Linked DNA regions of Homo sapiens: all the other regions are linked to region 1. Evidence: promoter capture Hi-C in 16 types of primary human blood cells and fetal thymus (Javierre and others, 2016). All regions are on one chromosome and are shown on one strand. Each heading gives the region's core, a stretch centred on a gene start or on the middle of the fragment in contact. The rest is flanking DNA. Distances are from core to core; before and after follow the strand shown. Region 1 holds the start of CCN1 (cellular communication network factor 1). Region 2 overlaps ZNHIT6 (zinc finger HIT-type containing 6). Region 3 overlaps ZNHIT6 (zinc finger HIT-type containing 6).

Region 1 (2,903 bases), core at 103-2,602:
GGTGGGGTCTTCTACTGAGTGTGTTGCAAGTAGAACGGGATCTTAAAATCTGCTGACATTTTTACTGCAAAATATTACATCCTAAATCTCTTTTCTGTACTTGGAGAGAAGGGCATTGCAATTCATTTAAAATGGGAGGCTTCCAGTGGTCCCTAGGAAAGGAGTTAAAAACCCCACAAAATGTCCAGCTTGAAGGAGTCTGCTTTTCCCAGAGATTCATAGGGCACAATGGTCCTGGAATCTGGTTTGGCCTTGCGGTCTTTGCAGGTGATGATTTCAGGCCACTCCACGGTGGTCTCCTGCACTTCTGGCTGGCTGCTTGGTTAGCATAGCCTCCTGCCCGCGGAGGGAGGCGGGAAGGGCTTACCCCGTCTCCTGCATCCGTGAGGAAGTATAAGTCAGCCTCCCGGAGAACTCCCCGCGTTCGTTTCCTCTCGGACTTCCAACCCAGGCAGTGGGCTGGAACTAAAGTGGGAACCTCCAAAAACAAACAAGTACAACATACCCAAAAGAGGGAAGGGCTGGAGGAGTGGGGGAGACCTCTGCCTGGGAATTTGCCAGACGATGGGCAAGTTTCCCCCCGCCCCACCCCCCCCCCGCCTTTTCATTCATAAATGCCACTGTGGGTATTAATTTGCAATTCACTGAACTTTGCTAATAAACATCATGCCAAAGCTTTGGGACTTGTTCCGAACACGCCTCTTTGAAGTCCACAAATATTCCTGACTCAGAGACACACTCCTCTTCCCCGTTCTACTCTTTCAACAGATAACTTGCCTCTCACCTTCGCTGTAAAAAAGCAAACAGCTCACTGCCTTCCCGGGTGAGGGCTTCAGTGGCTGCCCGGTCAACTCGCATCACCAAACAAAACGACTTTTGTTCCTCCCTCTCAGGTCCTCCCACCCACCCAGTCCAGGCAAAGTTCTGAACTGGCCCCCCTCGCCCCTCACGACCCTCCAACTACCATCACCACCATCACGCCCCAAAGAACCCTTCCCAACATAAGTCGTAATTTAAGGTGGAAAAAACGAACTGTTTTCTTGACGGGTCTGGGACACACACACACACACACACACACACACACACACCCCCCGAACTGTTTTCTTGACGGGTCTGGGAGACAGACACACACACAGACACACACACACACACACACACACACACACACACACACACACACACACACACACAAAGGTGCAATGGAGCCAGGGGAGGCGCTTGGCAGCAGCCCGCGCCAACCAGCATTCCTGAGATGTTTGAGAATTCTGGAACGCGCAGACAGAGCCGACGTCACTGCAACACGCGGCGCCTCCGCCGGCCCGTATAAAAGGCGGGCTCCGGGGCGCCTGGGCAGACCGCGAGCGAGAGCGCCCCCGAGCAGCGCCCGCGCCCTCCGCGCCTTCTCCGCCGGGACCTCGAGCGAAAGACGCCCGCCCGCCGCCCAGCCCTCGCCTCCCTGCCCACCGGGCCCACCGCGCCGCCACCCCGACCCCGCTGCGCACGGCCTGTCCGCTGCACACCAGCTTGTTGGCGTCTTCGTCGCCGCGCTCGCCCCGGGCTACTCCTGCGCGCCACAATGAGCTCCCGCATCGCCAGGGCGCTCGCCTTAGTCGTCACCCTTCTCCACTTGACCAGGCTGGTGAGTTGGACTCTCCTTTTGCCACCTATTCCCCGTCCGCTCTCCAGCCCCTTCCCCTGGTCCCAGATTGCCCACGGCAGGAAAAGTTAAAAAGTTCGCGATCGTTTGCGGGTAGCCGTTTCTTTAAGCACTCTCCCCCTCCCCCCGAAGACGTGTCGGGACCTCTTGGTGGGAGCAGCCTTCCGAGGTGGCCGGGCTGGACGAGATCAGAGGCTCCCCGTCGATAGGGTCGGAGACCCCCGTCCCTCACTGCGGCAGCCGCGGCGCCCCTCCTGCGCACCGCGCCGAGTCTCACGCGTATCTTCTCCCCCTTCCAGGCGCTCTCCACCTGCCCCGCTGCCTGCCACTGCCCCCTGGAGGCGCCCAAGTGCGCGCCGGGAGTCGGGCTGGTCCGGGACGGCTGCGGCTGCTGTAAGGTCTGCGCCAAGCAGCTCAACGAGGACTGCAGCAAAACGCAGCCCTGCGACCACACCAAGGGGCTGGAATGCAACTTCGGCGCCAGCTCCACCGCTCTGAAGGGGATCTGCAGAGGTAAGATGCTTGTGGTTTGGCCCCTTTAAAAAAAATACTAGTCCCCATAGTCCAGAAGTTTAGTAATTCTGAGACCATGTATGGTGATGCTTTGTTGTTGGTAGCTTGGCAGAAAGGCACATGATTTCAGCAGTCTGGAATGCAATTCAGTGTGTCTGGGCCCAACGAAAGCGCATACGGAAAAGTGATTCCTGACTAACTTATTGTTCTGGTCTGGAGTCTCCGGGGAATTGTAGGGAACTTTACCATAAATTGAATTTAACAGCAGAAAATATGTATGAGTTTCAGGCGGTGGTTTGGAATCTTAACTTTATCCCCTTCTACCTTTCTCTTTTGGTGATCTTTGCAGCTCAGTCAGAGGGCAGACCCTGTGAATATAACTCCAGAATCTACCAAAACGGGGAAAGTTTCCAGCCCAACTGTAAACATCAGTGCACATGTATTGATGGCGCCGTGGGCTGCATTCCTCTGTGTCCCCAAGAACTATCTCTCCCCAACTTGGGCTGTCCCAACCCTCGGCTGGTCAAAGTTACCGGGCAGTGCTGCGAGGAGTGGGTCTGTGACGAGGATAGTATCAAGGACCCCATGGAGGACCAGGACGGCCTCCTTGGCAAGGAGCTGGGATTCGATGCCTCCGAGGTGGAGTTGACGAGAAACAATGAATTGATTGCAGTTGGAAAAGGCAGCTCACTGAAGCGGCTCCCTGGTAAGTGGAGACTGAGCACTTCAGACA
Region 2 (2,903 bases), core at 177-2,676, 120 kb after region 1:
ATAGTGGAATTATAGGTGATATTTTTCCTTTAAACTTTTTAATGATACAGATGTATTATTTTTACAATAGCTACTATAAACTGATTCCTTCCCACATGCCAGTTACTGCCTATGTGAATTAATACACTAAAAGGCCACAACTCTACAAGGTAGCTATCATGAGCTCCATTTTGCAGACGGTAAAAGACTAAGAAATGGATTCTAAAGCCTATTAGTACATACTATGTTGCTAATCTCCTCCTGGGAAACACTAAAAATGTAAGAAAACTGATCACAAATCTCTATAAATTTATGAGCAAAAGACTTATGCAAGAAGAATCTGATTTGCCATTTCAGAGACCCGGGGAGTTTCAAAACAACCAAAAATATATTAAACCTGGAAAATATACTGAGTGTAATATTCTCGGTAAAAACTTCCCGCATACATTCATGTACCTACAGACACAAAAATGTTATACTTGAGGCCATCTGCTTTTCATTACTGAGAACTAATCTCTGATTACAATCATTCTGAATAGTTTCTTTCATAAAACAGGAACACATTTTGTATTTGAGAAAGCACTAACCAGTTACCATAAACTTCTAACCAGTTACCATAAACTTCAAATTATGTCAATTTCTAAATATGCCAGTTTCAAAACGCACAAAAGAATCATCTCACATTTGATAAATGCAAGACATTACTTTACTTTTTTTTTGAGACAGGGTCTCATTCTGTCACCCAGACTGGAGTGCAGTGGTGCAATCTTGGCTCACTGCAACCTCCGCCTCCTGTGCTCAAGGGATGCTCCCACTTCAGCCTCCTGAGTAGCTGGGATCACAGGTGGGTGCCACTGCACCTGGCTAATTTTTGTATTTTTAGTAGAGACGAGGTTTCACCATGTTGCCCAGGCTGGTCTCAAACTCCTGGCCTCAAGGGATCCACCTGCTTCAGCATTACTTTACTTTTCGAAGACAACCAGGAAAAACGAAAAACCATTTTTACAAATGTTTATGTCTTATATAAAATAAATGGAAAACGTCATCTTCTAATTATGATAACAGCTTTGAAAAGATAGAAGCTTCACTAGAATAATGATAATTCTGATGGCTTTGTCTTTTCAATTTTTGGAAGAGTACAACTGGAAAGGCTCCGTAGTTTACCCGGGTCAACTCCCCACATCATACAACTGGGGCCCAGAGAAAGGAAGTTGATTTGTTCAAGGCCCCACAGTTACTAAGAGGCTGAAAAGGGAGGGACTCCCTCAAGTTTTTAAAAATTCTAAATCCAAAATCTTGACTTCTGAAAGGTATTATCTGATAATTTAGTTGGCTACTTAAAGAACTTTGGGATCCTGTTCTCTTCTGTACTCTTGGGGCCTTTTCAACCCAACATTTTCAGACAGCAGCAAACTAATCTCTGTTATATTATCTGTACTCAAGAGTTCAAAGTCCCCTTCTTCTACATTGACAGCTTTTAATTGAAATCTTATTTGGAAACCCAGTGGAGAAAGAAAATAAAAGCAGAGCTGCCTTGATTAAAACAGTACAGGCGTCCTGTTTTTACTCGTTTTGTCCTGGAAGCCCCTGAAATACTTTCTTGGTATCTTAGTTCTCAAAGAAACAGTTTATTTCTAATGTATGAGAGTGTTCCAGGGCGCTGCTACTCAAAATATGTTTCTCAAACAATGAGCATCATTGAGGAGCTTGTTAGAAATGCCCAATATCAAACTCCAACCCAGGCCTACTGAAAAATCACAACAAGCATACTTAACAAGATGCCTAGGTGACTGGTATGCACATTAATGTTTGAGAAGCTTCTCAAATGATATGAAGACACACACACACACACACACACACGCACACACTGCAAACCCAAATTTTTATTAGAGTTACATGACATACAATTACTACAGTTATCTTGTCATGGACCAATAACAAACAGTTTACAGAACCACACTTGGGGTAGCAATGCTCTATAGCAACCAAACCTTAAAGAATGATCCTGATCAAATCAGAATACCTGATATACTAAAAAGTTAGAAACTTACTTCTTATCAAAAAAGGTTGAATTCTCCTTCCTCTTGGTGAATCCATTGGGTAGAAGTTTTAAGTTAATACCTTGCCTCCGGGCACGATTTTTCATAAAGTACATCTAACAACAAAAACCAAACAGACAAATTAATTTTTAAATTCCTTAAATTTAAAAAGTGAGTAAAACAATGTTCAATAATAGTTAAGATTTACTGAGAACCTAAGTGTTACAACAGCTCTAAGCAGTAATCTCATGTAATCTTCACCATGATACTATGAGAATAGGTACTATCATCTCCATTTTAGCAATAAAAATTAGTGAGATCCCAACATCATACAGCTATCCCAGAGAGATAGAACCTGTATTCAAACCCTGGTCTGTCTAATTCCAGAGCTTGTGTTTCTAACCATATGTTCTGTGAGCCAAAGAAGAATTTAATGGAGATTAAACAAACAAAAACACAGGTCATTTGGCAATCACGGGGGCTACCTACACAATTCTTGATTTCTTTTACCGATGGTTTTACCAGTTAGCTGTATATATATATCACTGATTTTATTACTAGACAGCTCACTCAAGGGAAGAGCCAAGGCATTGCCTAGTACAAGGCCTAGCTTAAAGTAACCACTGTTGTGGGAAGCACAAAATGGGATATGAGAACATTCTGGCTCTGACATGTGTTATTACATTGACCACCTGGGTTGATTAAGCTAAACTGGGCAATTCCAGAGTTATGAAGGAAGTAATACCAGATTTTTATTAAGTCAAGGAAGAAGAAAGATCACTCAAATAAGAGGCAAAATATAAACGCAAGTTTTTTGTTAAGTGAATAGGGATCTAGAATTTGCAATGTAAACAGTCAGAATCAAGTCCATAAGCCAAGGAAAGG
Region 3 (2,903 bases), core at 214-2,713, 100 kb after region 1:
ATGTGTTCTTCTTAAGACTGAAAGAATTAAGCTTGTTTCTCATTTTTTTATAATTATATATACAAATATATGTCCCACTTAAAAAAATATACATACATCAAAATCCTAGCAACATTACTTGGATTACTTTCTAAAGCTAGATTCCAAGAAGTACAATCACTAAGACAGAGCAGGGTTTCTCAATCTCAGCAGTGCTGATATTTTGGACTAGATAATTCTTTGCAAAGGACTTGGTCCTTTGCACTGCAGGACGTTTAGCAGCATCCTAGGACTCCACCCTCTAGATGAGTGTTCCACTAGGAACACTCATACACCCAGTTGTGGCCACCAAAAATGCTCCCAGAAATTGCAAATGTCCCCTGGAAGCAGAATCATCACTGTTTGAGAACCACAAGGATAAAGGTTTGAACATTTACAATTACTCCTAATGCATTAGAGCTACTGTTCCCTAAATTCAACAAAATGCCTTCAACTACAATAATGTCACTATACCCTTGGCATATCAACGTTCTCAAAAATGGTATTACTATACCTAGTATATTCTAGGTAACTTAGGGACTCCAAGATACCATGTTTAGAGTTGGGTGATAAGACTGGTGGAGTAATTGTGGCAACTTAATCCTTATGTTCCCTTCTGGACAATCTGACAAAGCAACAGAAACACTAACCTCTTCTGAGTCCTATGAAACCCAAGTAACTATTCATGCATAGCAAAGCTGTTTCCCTCTCCTCCTCTAAATATCAATACACACATGCATTCTCAATGAGGGCAGCATGGCCCCAAAGAGGGCAAAAACTGGTTCTCTGAAGGGCCAACAAAATCTTGCTATTTTAATGCTTGTGGCCCTACAAAGGGCTACTGTATGCAACAGATATACAGTGTATCTATGGTATCAAAATATCACGGCAGAAAGCTCCTTGGGAGGCAATAATAAAAAAAAAGTTGAAAAATACTTAGATGGCACTTGTATTAAATGAGGAAAATAAATATTTTATACTCATTTTCAGTGAGTTAATACAGAGCACTTATTTACCAACACTTGCTTACTAGAAACTGTTAAGGATCAGTCTCTCCGTGGCCCATTTGTTTACAAAAATAGAAAGAAAAGGGATCATTCTCTCCCACAGTTTCAAGAAAGTATGTGGATGAACACACACATTTAAGGAAAGAGGTTCTATAACCATAATCTAAATTATTCTTTTGACTTCATAACTTCAAATTGCAAATTTTCGTATGGGGAATACTACCACAATCCCAAGGAAAAAGATGCAAATCAAAAGTCATTAGGTCCTTTTAAATGGCACTGCTCTAATGTCACAATAAGATGTTCAAATTCATTAATAACCAAAGAAATGTATATATAAATAAAATATTTTTCCTTTTCAGGTTTGTAGAAATGTTTTTTAAATTAGAAATACTAAGGAAGTGTGGCAAAAGTGTGGCAACTTCATTGCTGACAGGAATATAAATTGGTGCAAGCTACTGGTAGTTCAATTTCATAAAAGCTATAAATAAAAATTTGTAATTGAAAAACTGTATATTTTTGCCTCAATAGTTTTATTCCTGGAAATGTATCCCAAGGAAATAATTGGTCAAGTAATGATATATATATAAAATGTCCACTGCACCACTTTATATAATAGAAAAAAATTAGAAACAACCTAAATGTACATCATCAGAAAGTTGATTAAATAAATCATGGTACATCTACATAATGAATTTTAAGTAGTCATAAAAGATGAGGCAGAACTTTATGTACTGATGTAGAAAAATGTGCATGTTGAATGATAGCCTTTATATTTAAAACACAGGTTTATACATATATTGGCAAGTATGAAGGCCATACCCCAAACTTTTAGCTATGATTATTTCTTGACATTATAAAAGGACTTGACTTAATTTTTACCTACGAATATGTCTGTATTATTAAATAAATCTTCCACATAATGATTTGTGGGCTTTTTTTTCCTTTTTTGAGACAAGGTCTCACTCTGTCGCCTGGGCTGGAGTGCAGTGGCCAAAAAGGGTTTGCTGCAGCCCTGACTTTCTGGGCTCAAGTGATCCTCTCGCCTCAGCCCCTGCAAGTAGCTACCACAGCTGGCTGTATTTTTGAATTTTAGTAGAGACAAGCTCTTGCTATGTTGCCCAGGCTGGTCTCCAACTCCTGAGCTCAAGTGACCCTCCTACCTTAGCCTCCCAAAGTGCTGAGATTACAGGTGTGAGCCACCGTACCTGGCTGATTTGTTACTTTTCATAATCAGTAAAGTCAAAGATGCATTCATGGGCGCATACAGGATGGCAGTGATAGAAAGAACAGGAATAATTTTAACATTCTTTTTTTTTTTTTCTTTTTTTTCTTGAGATGGAGTCTCGCTCTGTCGCCCAGGCTGGAGTGCAGTGGTGCGATCTCAGCTCACTGCAAGCTCCACCTCCTGGGTTCACACCATTCTCCTGTCTCAGCCTCTCTAGTAGTTGGGACTACAGGTGCCCGCCACCACACCTGATTAATTCTTTGTATTTTTAGTAGAGACGGGGTTTCACTATGTTAGCCAGGATGGTCTCAATCTCCTGACCTTATGATACGCCCGCCTCGGCCTCCCAAAGTGCTGGAATTACAGGTGTGAGCCACCGCACCCACCCTTAACATTCTTTTTAAACTTAAACATATTTCACTATTAGAAGTATTCATTTAAGAATTCTCTTTTGCCCCCTTTGAGAAAAAAAATATATATTTCTCTTTTTTATCTTAGAAACTAGTACTGAACCAGAACGAGGGTTACCTATCTCATCATTTTGATGGTCTCAAGGCTATCTTCCTAAGAAATGTGCCACAACTAAGAGTTACAAACGGAGGCTAAACTCAAAGAATGAAGATTTCTAATACAAAGTTTAAAGAAGCTTG

The links. The method cuts DNA at HindIII sites, captures the fragments that hold promoters and counts their contacts. A CHiCAGO score of 5 or more calls a contact.
Region 2: a fragment that was not itself captured here is called in contact with the fragment with the promoter of CCN1 in region 1 in 1 of 17 cell types (endothelial precursors); the score reaches 5.1 in endothelial precursors.
Region 3: a fragment that was not itself captured here is called in contact with the fragment with the promoter of CCN1 in region 1 in 1 of 17 cell types (endothelial precursors); the score reaches 7.6 in endothelial precursors.

What each region holds. Positions count from the first base shown.
Region 1 is chr1:85,579,409-85,582,311 of GRCh38, forward strand. CCN1 (cellular communication network factor 1) reads left to right here and starts at 1,353. Exons shown (of 5, transcript NM_001554.5): 1 at 1,353-1,639; 2 at 1,957-2,170; 3 at 2,520-2,876. The coding sequence starts at 1,577. RefSeq lists enhancers at 921-1,443, 1,174-1,223, 2,490-2,903 and silencers at 1,334-1,463, 1,894-1,953, 1,964-2,013, 2,024-2,073. The HindIII fragment of the contact is 3,344 bases long and covers 674-2,903 here.
Region 2 is chr1:85,700,127-85,703,029 of GRCh38, forward strand. ZNHIT6 (zinc finger HIT-type containing 6) reads right to left here. Exons shown (of 10, transcript NM_017953.4): 5 at 2,031-2,134. Among named protein-coding and RNA genes, the nearest start is that of ZNHIT6, 6.9 kb to the right of the region's middle. The HindIII fragment of the contact is 735 bases long and covers 1,060-1,794 here.
Region 3 is chr1:85,683,620-85,686,522 of GRCh38, forward strand. All of the region lies in intron 5 of ZNHIT6 (zinc finger HIT-type containing 6), which reads right to left. Among named protein-coding and RNA genes, the nearest start is that of ZNHIT6, 23 kb to the right of the region's middle. The HindIII fragment of the contact is 2,868 bases long and covers 30-2,897 here.